Linked DNA regions of Homo sapiens: region 1 is linked to region 2. The links are contacts of gene promoters, found by promoter capture Hi-C in human tissues and cell types (Jung and others, 2019). All regions are on one chromosome and are shown on one strand. Each heading gives the region's core, a stretch centred on a gene start or on the middle of the fragment in contact. The rest is flanking DNA. Distances are from core to core; before and after follow the strand shown.

Region 1 (6,480 bases), core at 3,919-6,418, 130 kb after region 2:
TAACCCTCCTCCACCCCATCACGGTGGCCCTGAGGGCTGACCCGGAGGCCAGTGGAGCTGCCTGGTGTCCACGGGGGAGGGCCAAGGCCTGCTGAGCTGATTCTCCAGCTGCTGCCCCAGCCTTTCCGCCTTGCACAGCACAGAGGTGGTCACCCCAGGGACAGCCAGGCACCTGCTCCTCTTGCCCTTCCTGGGGGAAGGGAGCTGCCTTCTGTCCCTGTAACTGCTTTCCTTATGGCCCAGCCCGGCCACTCAGACTTGTTTGAAGCTGCACTGGCAGCTTTTTTGTCTCCTTTGGGTATTCACAACAGCCAGGGACTTGATTTTGATGTATTTTAAACCACATTAAATAAAGAGTCTGTTGCCTTACTTGTTTCTCTCCTGACCTGTGTATTCCTTTGTTTCTGGATCTGATCCATTCAGCCCCTTCCATCATCACTGACTTGTTCAGGTCTGCTGCAGAGCGCCCATGGTGGTTCCCTGGTATCTTACATATTCCACAGTGTCTTTGAGCAGTCGCCACAGCCTCAGGATGCTGGCATATTCACTTGAGCTGCCTGAGTGGAGCCCTTGGCAAAGTTGGCAAGACCCTTGCCTCAGAGAGGATCACACACACACAAAAAAGTTTTCCCTGACCTGGGGGCTCACAGGCTAGTGAAGGGAAAAGGTACTTTTAGCTATAGACAGGTCAATGGTGCTGAGAGCAGAGAGGAGGCCCCTGCCCCCTTCAGCAAGGTGAGGGGGTGATACCTGGAATGGCCTTCTGAACCACAGGGCAGGTAGAAGATGAACGTCATTTAGTGATTAAATGGTACAGCTGGGAAGCAGGTCCATGGGACTGGGAGAGGGGGTGAGGCTGGGCCCAGAGTCTGGGTACCAGGTTAAGGAATGTGGGCTAGATCCAGAGGGCAGGGGGGGCAACTGAAGGTGTTTCAATAGGAAATTGATAGGCTCCAGCAGTAAGGCAAAAGGCATGGAGCCAGGCATAGGCCATTTGAGGCCCAGGTTAAGAGGGGTGGACACTCATCACTGCTATTTGGGTCTGAGCTGTGGGTAGGCTCCTATAGCCCTGGCCTGCCCAAGGGAATTCACAGGGGCCTCTAATTGTATGCATTCCTTAAGGAGAGCACATTCTCTGTTCAGTTTTTACACCCCCCATTTACCCACCTCAAGCATGGGACTCCTATATGGGAGACATGCTGCTGGTGGCCTCACCCAGCACCCTGTTCTCTCTGGGTCCTGGGTTGGTCAGGCACAAAGGATGATATGTGCTGAATGCCCAGGAAATGGCAGAGACAACCCACCTGCCCTTCCCTCCAGGCCTCCACAAATAGATGTGCCCACAATGACTGTGACAGTCCCAGCAGAGCCTCTGACCCTTCTAGCTGGGTCCTGATACATGTTTTCCATGCTGGCCATGTTATTTCTAGTCGCAGATCCTCTGGAGGGTGTGGGGGGGGTGCCGCCCCAACTCTTGGAGATTCCAAGCAAAGCAGCTCTGAGAATAATGAGGTTTCTGACCCCCCAGTGAAGCAGCTGAGGATGGGAACCACAGGGGTGCTCCCTCTGTCAGCAGCATTACCACTGTCTACTCTAGCAGCTCCGGTGGGGAAGGAGAGGGATTTCTGTTGTCCCCAGTCTGGGCCCCTGGTTATTGAAAAAGTTCGGAATTACTCTTTACCCTTGTGGAGTGTTCTGAGTGTTGGAAGTACCCAGGAAGAAGCCCTGAGCAGGTGCCCTCAGGAGCAGTGCCCATGGCTCCCCACATCAGCCAAGAGGCCCAACCCCAGGAAGCCACTCCTGCCCGGGGATGGGGAAGGTGGGCTGGGTGGCTGTGTGCACTGCCCTGGGCCAGCTCACTTGAGCCTGCTGAGCCGCCTGGCCAAACATGAGCCTCTCTCCTGTTGTATCAGATGCTGTTCTGGGGACCTGCGCCAGGAGCCTCTGCCAGGGCTTTAAATAGCTGCCCCCATTGATCTGGCTGCAGGCAGCAGCAGTCACACTGGGTCAGCCTCCATCAGGTGCTCAGGTTTCCCTGAGGACTGGAGTCAGGTGCCAGGGAATCGCGTGGTCTACCTTATGACCTGGTGCTCCCCACACCTGTCTCCTAGGCCTGGGGGGTGGGGAGGACTCCTGTCACTTCATCTGCGGCAAAATACAGCCCCCACCACTTACCAGAGAAAACTGTCTGGCATTGTAGAGAGAGGGGTTTTGCCCTCAAAAGACTGTTGCTTACTTTCAGTAGAATGGGGAATGACACTGGTATCTTCCTTAAGGGTTGTTATGGGGATGAAATGTATGTAAAGTGCTCAATAGGGCACTGGACTCACTCCATTGATGGCTGTCTTTGCTCGAAGTGTCTTCCTGATGCTGCTGCTGTTGCTGCTTGTGCTTCTTCTGTGCTTACATTCTCTCTCTCTCACTCACTCACTCTGTCTCTCCTCTCCCCCGCCCCACCCCCTTTCTGACAAAGCCACCACCATTTTGTAAGGAACTGTAGCTTCTCTCTGAAACTGCCGGGAAAGGGAAAATCTTTTTAAAATAGACATCACACAACCAACAGGGTCCCCTAGGTTCAGGCGGGGAGGTGAGGTCGAGTGAGAGGAACTGCTTAGCATACGCGGGGATGCTCCTCCCATCTCACCCCACCGCGCTAAGGAGAAGGTCACTTTCTCTTTAAATGCAAATGAACTCCCTCCAGCTTAGCTTTCACCCGGTGGTGTTCCCGGGAGGAGAGGGCGGAGGGCGGAGGGAACTTGCACCGAAGCATCACTCGAGACCCCAAACCTCCAGGTCAGTAGCCCCCTGAGGGAGTGAGGGCGGGGGCGGAATGACGCGGGTCTGACGCTCTGTCTTCGAGCGCGGCTGCGGAGCTGAGCGATGAGTTTGGCACATGGCTTTGGAGCCCGGGCTTGGGAAATAGATCCCCGGTCGCCCCAGCCGCTCCTGGGGAGCACAGGCTCCGGCTCCAGTTCTTCTATCAGGTCCCTAATTGGGTCAAGCTGCTGCACGGAGAGGCAGAGGATGCGCTCCTATCTCCCCTCCCCACACCCGCAGACCCCGTCAGTGGCAGCCAGCTATGTGTCAGTGTAAATGCTTAAGCGCCACCCACCCCCCCAACCCCCCCAGTCCCAGAATTCGAAGTTAGGCTCGGTAGCAGCAGCCTGGAATGAGACCCCCAGAGGAGGGAACCCCAGCCGACCGGAGGCTTGGGGGGCGCTGCTGGACCGGGGACCTCGGAGCAGCCCAGCCACAGGCGCAGCCTTTGTCGGAGGCCCAGGCAGCCAGCGGCCAACCACCCAGTCCACCCTGGCTGCAGCTGAAGCCCAGCAGGGACTTTCCGACTGGGAAAAATGAAGCAGCTGAAAGCACACCCGCGGGACCTATAGGGAGTCCCTAATATTTTCGGTTGGGGGTGGGTGGAAGTGGAGGGATGCCGGTGTCTATGTGGGGGAAACCCACAATGAACCCTGCCCTGTATGCTGCGGCTTCTCCTACAATTACCCACACGCTGGGGCTTTCCCAGGCGCCCCTACCTGCACCTTGTCCCCCTCCCATGCTGACAGGGTTTGTTAGCATCTGCTTAGGCCCCTGATAAATAGAATAGGGTTTAGTTAAGACATCCCTAATCTTCGGCTGGGCTTCTGCAGCTCACCTCCGTCTTGTCTCCCACTACATTTCCTCTGCCAGCCCCGCCCCCCAGCCACCGTGACAGGAAGCCCCAGTAGCGCCAAGATAGTTGTGACTGGTCCCACCCTTTCAGGAGGGGCCTAGGTTTTCAGGCAGAAGGGGAATTAGGTTGGGCCTTAGAAGGTCCTTCAAGTGTACATCCACGATCCCAGCAGCAGACACTGGCATCTGGCTCTGCCCCTACCGTATAGATGAGGTGACAAGCTGGAAGGTCCCAGGGCCCTTCCTTGGTGCAGCTCTCAGGGATTTCTGGGTGAAGGGCTAACTTTGCCCCTGGCTATCTTTGTGGGGTTGCTTCCCTCCTAGGCCTGAGGCCCAGCCAGCGCCCAATGGATGACAAAAAGAAGAAACGGAGTCCCAAGCCCTGCCTGGCCCAGCCAGCCCAGGCCCCAGGCACACTACGGAGGGTCCCTGTGCCTACCAGCCACAGCGGCTCCTTGGCCCTAGGACTTCCTCATCTGCCATCCCCCAAGCAGCGGGCCAAGTTCAAGAGGTGGGTACAGAAGGGAAGGAAAGGAGGAGGGACCCCAACTCTGGGTTGCACTGTAGAGAGGAAGGCAAGGGGGGCCTCCGCCTTTAGTTCCTAAGCAATAATTGATGCCTTTCTGGAGCAGACCCCTGAGAACTCAGAGCTCACTCAGACCCAGTCCCTACCCTCAACTGTGTGGCAAAAAGGCCAGGTGGGTCACTGGGATCACATAGCGTGAGGATTCGCCTCAGAGGAGGGAGTGAGCAACTCTGCAAGAAAGTGAATGTTCCACGCTGAGAGGCTTACCTGGTATAAATATGGAAGAAAGCTATTACCTGAAAGGTTTCAGGAACCACAGGTGGTTTGGGGGCCCTGGAGTATCAGGGAACAGGAAATGGTGAGGAAATACCTGGGGGCACAATTTGAATTCTCTGTTGAATTTTTTTTATGATTGGGAGTTTGCATGCTGCCTTATAATGTGTCCATGTTTGTTCCCCACTAAATACAATGTATTCTTTCTCCAGTTGCTCCAGATAAGACCACTGTGTTTCCCCCTGGTTTTGCACACCACTTGCCTAAGGGGCATGAAGCTCAAGGCTGTGGGGAGAGTAGCAGGAAAGGCAACTGGGAAGGCAGGAGGGCCAGGCTGGCAGGGGCATTCAATTTTATCCTGAGAGCAGTGGAAATTTTAAGACAGTTTTTTTGGTTTATTGGTTTGGCTTTGTTTTCTATGTATTTTTGTTTTTGTTTAAAAGAGTTTTTAAATAGAAGAGGGTTGGCTGGGCATGGTGGCTCAGCCTATAATCCCAGCACTTGGGGACGCTGAGGCAGGCAGATCACCTGAGGTCAGAAGTTTGAGACCAGCTTGGTCAACATGGTGAAACCTCATCTCTGTTAAAAATACAAAAGTTAGCCAGGCGTGATGGTGGGTGCCTATAATCCCAGCAACTTGGGAGGCTGAGGCACAAGAATCACTTGAACCTGGAAGGCAGAGGTTGCAGTGAACCGAGATTGTGCCACTGCACTCCAGCCTGTGTGACAGTGAGACTCTGTCTCAAACAAAAAAAAAATTTTTTTTTTAATTAAAAAAAAAGAAGAGGGCTAGGGGCAGTGGCTCAGGCCTGTAATCCTAGCACTGTGGAAGGCCAAGACAGGCAGATGACCTGAGGTCAGGAGTTCAAGACCAGCCTGGCCAACACGGTGAAACCCCAACTCTACTAAAAGTAAAAAAAATTAGCAGGGCATAGTGGCAGGCGCCCATAATGCCAGCAACTTGGGAGGCTGAGGCAAGAGAATCACTTGAACCCAGGAGGCGAGGTTGCAGTGAGCCGAGATCACACCACTGCACTCCAGCCTGGGCAACAGAGCGAGACTCTGTCTCAAAAAACAAAAAAAAAGAAGAGGGGCAGAAAGATATTTTGGGAGGAGGTAAGACAGCCCTGGTGGCAATAAGGGAGTAGCTGTCTCTATATACGCTGAAGACTAGGGAGGATAAGTGACTCATTCAGGGTCATAAAACAAATGAGTGAGGCACTCAGACAGGAACCCAGGGACCCCCTTTCAGGCACTGCTCTGGCTGTGTTATTAGCAGAAAAGACTTCTTTTTGACCTCTTCACGCCTCCTCACCCCTTCCCAGTGCCCAAGGGGAACCATAAAGTTACCCATTTATGCTAGTAAGTAGATGGGCAGATGAGTTAGTGCAGATAGACAGATAAACTGGTGCATAGGCAGATGGCACAAAAGATCGGGAGGTGCCTGACTGCCCCCTACCCTGTGATCATGGTCATGTCCACCCCACCCAGAGTAGGCAAAGAGAAGTGCCGCCCAGTCCTGGCTGGAGGTGGAAGCGGCTCTGCAGGCACGCCCCTGCAGCACTCCTTCCTGACCGAGGTGACTGATGTCTATGAGATGGAGGGGGGACTCCTGAACCTGCTCAATGATTTCCACTCTGGCCGGCTGCAGGCCTTCGGTGAGTCCTGGGGGCTGGTTTCAGCGGGTGTGTGGATAGGGCTGTAGGGCCCAGTCCATGGGGCATGGCTGGGACCATGGTTCCAGGGTTCCAGGGTTCCAGGACTCTTTCCCAGGGTTCAGACAGGGGCTTCGTTCCAGGGAAGGAATGCTCCTTTGAGCAGCTGGAGCACGTTCGGGAGATGCAGGAGAAGCTAGCCCGGCTGCACTTCAGCCTGGATGTGTGTGGGGAGGAGGAGGACGATGAAGAGGAAGAGGATGGGGTCACTGAGGGGCTGCCAGAGGAGCAGAAGAAGACAATGGCTGACCGTAACCTGGACCAGCTGCTTAGCAATGTGGGTTCATGTCTGGG
Region 2 (6,641 bases), core at 3,352-5,851:
CGAGGTCAGGAGATCAAGACCATCCTGGCTAACACGGTGAAACCCCGCCTCTACTAAAAAACACAAAAAATTAGCCGGGCATAGTGGTGGGTGCCTGTAGTCCCAGCTACTCGGGAGGCTGAGGCAGAAGAATGGCGTGAACCCAGGAGGCAGAGCTGGCAGTAAGCAAGATCGCACCACTGTACTCCAGCCTGGGTGACGGAGCGAGACTCCGTCTCAAAAAAAGAAAAAAAGAAAGAAATGTCTACTGATCTCTTGACCTTTTTTTTTTTTCCTTTTGAGACAAGGTCTCTGTTGTCGAGGCCAGAGTGCAGCCTCAAAGTCCTGGGCTCAAGGAATCTTCCAGCCTCAGCCTCCTGAATAGCTGAAACTACAGGCATGCACCACCATGCCCAGCTAATTTTTTAAATTTTTTGTAGAGATGGATCTTGAATTCCTGGGCTCAAGTGATCCTCCTGCCTCCACCTCCCAAAGCACTGGGATTATGGGCATGACCCACTGCAGCCAGGCATTTCTTGACTCTTCTGTGTTTCCTTCATTGTCAGCTAAATAATTCTCAAAAGATGGCAAGATGGCCACCAAGACCTCCAAGTTTATAACTTACTTGCTCAGCCAGCCCAGAGGGGAATAAAAATTTCCTTCCCAATAGTTCTAACAAAGATCCTAGGATTGCACCTCATTTGGGCTGACAGGTCACTAATCCCCTCCTACTCCCCAACCACCCCAACCAGTCACTAGCCTTAGGAGGCAGGGATATTGGAATGCTTTGATTTGCCAAGCCTGTGTCTTCTGCCCACAAAGGAACTGCAAAGTAAGGCAACTCCACCAAACCACACAGACTGAGAGAGTCAGAGGAAGAGTAGTTCCCCAAGGGAAAAATCAGTGTTCTTATGAGGAGGAAGAATAGATGCTGAGCAGGCAAATTTAGTAGTCCACCACTACAAGGTGGGCTGGAGCCACAGGTAATAGGTGGGTCACATTCATGGCAGTCCATACAAGTGGACTTACCTCCCCCGCTTTTTTTGAGACAAGGTCTCACTCTGTCGCCCAGGATGAATGCAGTGGTGTGATCATTTCACTGTCATCTCAAACTCCTGGGCTCAAGTGATTTCTCTCCCTTCAGCCTCCCGAGTAGCTAGGACTACAGGCATGCACCCATCATGCCCGGCTAATTTTTAAATTTTTTGTAGAGACAGGGTTCCCCTGTGTTGCCCATGCTGGTCTCAAATTCCTGGACGCAAGTGATCCTCCCACCTCAGTCTTCCAAAGTGTTGAGAAAGTGTTGAGATTACAGGCATGAGCCACTGCACCCAGCCTCTAACAGAATTTCTTTTTTTTTCTTTTTTTCTCTATAAGAATTTCTGTGGCTGGAAAAAAGCACTCCCAGTCCTGCTTTCTTCTTTGCTTGTTGAGCCAGGGATAGTCATTTTCCATCCCTGGGCCACTTTTCCCCTTGAAGGGAAGGACTGACTTGGTGTAAAATCTGTCATAATTGGCCAGGCGAGGTGGCTCAAGCCTGTAATCCCAGCACTTTGGGAGGCCGAGGCGGGTGGATTACGAGGTCAGAAGATCGAGACCATCCTGGCTAACACGGTGAAACCCCATCTGTACTAAAAGTACAAAAAAATTAGCCGGACGTGGTGGCGGGCACCTGTAGTCCCAGCTACTCAGGAGGCTGAGGCAGGAGAATGGCGTGAATCCGGGAGATGGAGCTTGCAGTGAGCCGAGATCGCACCACTGCACTCCAGGCTGGGCGACAGAGTGAGACTCAGTCTCAAAAAAAAAAAAAAAAACTGTCATAATTTAAAAATATACATCTGTTGAATTGGACTCCATATTTTCATTAGTGCAGGCTACATACCTTGGAGTCATCCTTATCTCTTCTCTTCCTCACACACTCCTATCCATTTTGTCAACAAGTCCTGTTTTGTTTTTGTTTTAATTTTTTTTTAGATGGGGTCTTTCTACATTTCCCAGGCTGGAGTGCAGTGGCACTATCACGTCTCACTGCAGCCTCAATTTCCCAGGGCTCAAGTGATCCTCGTACCTCAGCCTCCCAAGTAGCTGGGACTACAGGCACATGCCACCACACCTTGCTCATTTTAAATTTTTTTTTTTGTAGAGACAGGGTCTCACTTTGTTGCCCAGGCTGGTCTCAAACTCCTGGGCTCAAGCAATCTTTCCACCTCAGCCTCCCAAAGTGCTGGGATTACAGGCATCAGCCACCATAGTCAGCCCAACAGATCCTGTAGACTTTACCTTCAAATCCAGAATTCAACCATGTCTCACCATCTCACCCAACCTGGTGCAAACGATCAACATCTCTTGCTAAGATCATTGCCACAGCCTCCTGCCTGGTCTCCCTGCTTCCACCTTGGTGCCCCTGCAGTCTATTCTCACCATACAGCTGGAATAGTTCTTTTAAATAGAAGTTCAAACCCTATAATAGCTCTGCATCTCATTCAAAGTAAAAGCCACACAGCCCTACATGATCTATCCCTTCTCATGTCCTACTCTTATATCTATACCTGTGTCACACTTGCCTCCTTATTTCTCAAACACACCCTCTTGGCTGGGCGTGGTGTCTCACGCCTGTAATCCCAGCACTTTGGGAGACCGAGACTGGCAGGTCACTTGAGGTCAGGAGTTCAAGATCAGCTTGGCCAACAAGGTAAAACCCCGTCTCTACTAAAAAGTACAAAAATTAGCCGGTGGTGGTGGCACGTGCCTGTAATCCCAGCACTTTGGGAGGCCAAGGCAGGCGGATCATGAGGTCAGGAGATTGAGACCATTCTGGCTAACATGGTGAAACCCCATCTCTACTAAAAATACAAAAAATTAGCAAAGTGTGGTGGCACACACCTGTAGTCCCAGCTACTTGGGAGGCTGACGCAGGAGAATCACTTGAAACCGGGAGGTGGAGGTTGCAGTGACCCGAGATCACACCACTGCACTCCAGCCTGGGGACAGAGTGAGACTCCGTCTCAAAAAAACAAACAAACAAAAAAACAAAAATTAGACCAGGCGTGGTGGTGCACACCTGTAATCCCAGCATTTTGGGAGGTCGAGGTGGGTGGATGATTTGAGGTCAGGAGTTTGAGACCAGCCTGGCCAACATGGTGAAACCCCGCCTCTCCTAAAAATGGAAAAATTAGCCGGGCATGCTGGCGGGTGCCTGTAATCCCAGCTACTTGGGAGGCTGAGACAGGAGAATCGCTTGAACCCGGGAAGCGGAGGTTGCAGTGAGCCGAGATCGTACCACTGCACTCCAGCCTGGGCAACAGAAAGGGAGACTCCAGTCTCAAAAAAACAAAACAAAACAAAAACAAAAATTAGCCGGGCATGGTGGTGCACGCCTGTAATTTCAGCTTGTTGGGAGGCTGAGGCAGGAGAATCGCTTGCACCCAGCAGGTGGAGGTTGCAGTGAGCCGAGATCGAGCCACTGCTCTCCAGCCTGGGCAACAGAGACTCCATCCCCTCAAAAAACAAAATAATAAAATAAATACACCCTCCTGCCTGAGGGACCTTGCACTAACTATTCCCTCTGCCTGAAATGCCCCCTTTCTCCAGAAATCTGCACCACTGACTCACTCATTTCCTTCATGTGTTTACTCAAGTCAACTCTGAAGCCTGCTCTGCCTGCCCTATTTAAAACTGCAACCCCATCCCCCTTTCCTGTTTTTCCTTCACACCATTCCCATCTAACATACTACAGAATTTACCAATTTTGTTCATGTCTATCTCCTCCCACTTGACTGTAAGCTCTATGACTATTAATGAAATATCTACTAATTCATTCAATTAATTGAATACTGCTATTAAGTGCCAAGCACTGTGCTAAGCAATGGAGCTACAAGATGACTAAAACTGCTTGTAGGTCTTGTGAGGGAAGAATCCTAATGACAATAAATGTAGCTCATTTAGTCAATGCTTCTCCAAACATCGTGATGGCTAATACTAAAACAGACTCAGTTCTGCATGCTCTATTTCATTTAACCCTCACCGAAACCTACACGGTGACCATCAGCAGCCTCATCGTAAAGCATAAAAAAACAAGATTGCAAGGCTGGGAAATGGCAGTCAGGATCTGAACCACGGTGTTGACAATGAGAACGGTGAGTAACGTCAAATGTGAGAAATATTTAGGACTTAGGCTCACAAAGACTAAGGCAAAGATCGGATGTGGGGGCCGAGGGAGGGAGGAAATGACTCCTGGATTTTGACTGGGGTGGACTAAAGCGCAGTGAGGCCTAAGAGAAGGATGAAGCGCAACGTGGGGCTGGGCTGGAGGTGCCTGCGGACCGGTCAGGGATATGGTCCACCCCTAGGGGAGCGGAGAGGCGGCTCCGCACCCTCCTCCGGTCGCCGCCGCCCCGGTCCAGGAGATGCTGAGAGAAGACACGCACGGGAAGAGCAGGAGGTGGGTTCCGTTCCCCTCCCTCTTGAGTCTCTTCACCAGCAGCTGCAGGAAGGGCGTGGGGGACCGAGAGACAAAGAGCGCGCAGGCACCGCCTCCGTCCGGGCGGCCCCTTTAAGAAGCGCGCGCCAGCTTCCAGCCCGCCTTGTATGCAAATGTAGCGGCGCGGCGGGAGCGCGCGGCTGATACCCGGGACTGGGCTGCGGCGGTTAGTCCTCTCCCGGCCGCCGTCGCCTCCGACATATTGCCCGCAGGAGCTGCGGCGGCGAAGCGGAGAGCACCGGGGGGAGGAGATGGGTGAGCAGAGCGGCTCAGGCTCGGCCTGGCAACGAGCGGGCGCACGGGTTAGGATGGCCAGGCTGCTAATTGCTGCTCCACGCGGACAGGAGCCCGGTGACGGGAGGGGGAGGGGATGCGAGCGCAGACGGGATCCCGCCCCCTCCTGTCGTTTTGCGGGGTGGGGCCTCTGTTGTGGGGGCGGGACATTGGACGGTGGGCGGGGCTTCTAAGACGAAGCCCTGTGGGGGCTTGGGCTTTCGTGAGGACCAGCTCGTCGGGGCTAGAAAGGGGGGCGGGACTTACCAGTGGGCGTGGCTTCAGCGCTAAGGGTGGAGATTCTGGGCAGGGGGCGCTAGTGCAGTCGGCGTTTCTGGGTTGGAGGGGTTACACTGGGGGCGGTGGAGCGGGGAGACTTCCGACTGAGGGAGCCCATTCTGGAGTGGGGCTTCTGGGCTGAGAGGGCTTTTATTGGCTTGTGGGCGGGGTTTCTGGGCTGACAGTTGTGTGTAGGCGGAGCTTCTGGGCTGAGGGGCTTTATGTGGGTGCAGAGCTTCTAAAGAGAGGAGAGTGGGTGTGGGCAGAGCTTCTGGACTGGACTAAGGGTGTTTGTGTGGGATTTTCTAAGCCAAGTATAACAGCGTATGAACAGAGCTTCTGGTCTGGGGGTTTATGGAGGGCAGAGCTCTTCGCCAGGTACTTTTTAGAGACTTGTGGAGGTTTATAATTTTGGGCATACATCCAAGCCCAAAATTGGCTCCGAAGTGTGGGAAACGCTTCCGAGCTGAGATGCTACGGCGTGGGGTGTATGTGAATGGAGGCTGCTGTGTTACTGTGAAGAGGTATGAACAGGTTATAACTTTTTAAAAATATGTATATGTATGTATATATATTTTTTAATAGAGACCGGGTTTCGCCATGTTGCCCAGGCTGGTCTCCAACTCCTGGTCTCAAGCGATCCTCCCGCCTCGGCCTCACAAATTGCTGAGATTACAGTCGTGAGCCACCACACCCAGTCAGGTTGTGACTTTTTTAGGTGCTTAGGAGCTTTGTGCAGAACTTTTGTGCGAAGTGGTGCGTGGGAGCTTGGGCTAGACTGCTCAGCCTAGTAGGTCCAATTTTTCAGTCCACAGCCACAGGATTCTCCCAGCCATATCCTTGACCCTTTATTTAGGCCCTGGGTCCTGCCCATGAGATCCCAGAATGCCCTTTGAGCTGAATCATGGGGCCCTGGATGAAAAAGCTGTCCCAAAGTTACCCAGAGTTATAGGCCTCCAGAAACTTATGTCTGAATGGGGCCCAATGTGTACCAGAGTTGAGAGCACACGACCCAGCCACGATACTGTGACATAGTGTAAGCTGAGTTTCCTAATGTGTGAAAAACCTACCTTGCTGGGTTCATTCACTCATCAACATATACTTGCTGGGCACTGAGGTAGGGGATATAGCAGTGAAAAAGATAAGGTAACTGACCTCATTGACCTTTCATTGTAATAGGACAGACAAGCAATAAGCATATTAACAAATGAGTAAGATAATTTCAGAGAGTGAATTCTGGTGGAAAAAAAGAATAGAAATTGGAGAGAGAGTGATGGGGAGTTACTTCAAAACTTCAGAAATGGCAGTCCGGGAAAGGCTTTCCAGATAGGATATTATAAGTGCTAGAGGTAGCAATGAGCTTGGCTTGCTGAGGAAAGAAAGATCAAGATGTTTAGAGCATGGGGCGGGTGGTAGAGGGTGGGTGTGAGGTAGAGAATGATAGGGGATGAAGCTGAAGATGTAAGAAGGGGCCAGATCATAGGTCTCAGTGAGGATTAAATGATAAAGTGAGATACTAGGTGACTGGCAGCTGGTATCATTGCTGTTATCCTTGATATATGCCCCCTGGCTTGAGGCTCTATTTTATGTTGAGCCCCACAGGAGGACGAAGAGGTCCCAACAGGACATC

Evidence for each region. Contacts are between HindIII fragments. The study calls those that stand out against the background at their distance.
Region 1: a contact is called between a fragment that was not itself captured here and the fragment with the promoter of TMEM39B in region 2, in 1 of the 25 tissues and cell types used here (spleen).

What each region holds. Positions count from the first base shown.
Region 1 is chr1:32,197,917-32,204,396 of GRCh38, forward strand. CCDC28B (coiled-coil domain containing 28B) reads left to right here and starts at 2,679. Exons shown (of 6, transcript NM_024296.5): 1 at 2,679-2,793; 2 at 3,997-4,183; 3 at 5,963-6,129; 4 at 6,270-6,463. The coding sequence starts at 4,020. TXLNA (taxilin alpha) reads left to right here. Exons shown (of 11, transcript NM_175852.4): 11 at 1-369. RefSeq lists enhancers at 1,338-1,896, 1,897-2,454, 2,667-2,746, 3,525-4,045, 4,007-4,056 and 2 more. The HindIII fragment of the contact is 5,077 bases long and covers 2,631-6,480 here.
Region 2 is chr1:32,068,338-32,074,978 of GRCh38, forward strand. It overlaps TMEM39B (transmembrane protein 39B), which reads left to right and starts at 4,602. Exons shown (of 9, transcript NM_018056.4): 1 at 4,602-4,714; 2 at 6,614-6,641. The coding sequence starts at 4,711. RefSeq lists an enhancer at 4,001-4,606. The HindIII fragment of the contact is 13,852 bases long and covers 1-6,641 here.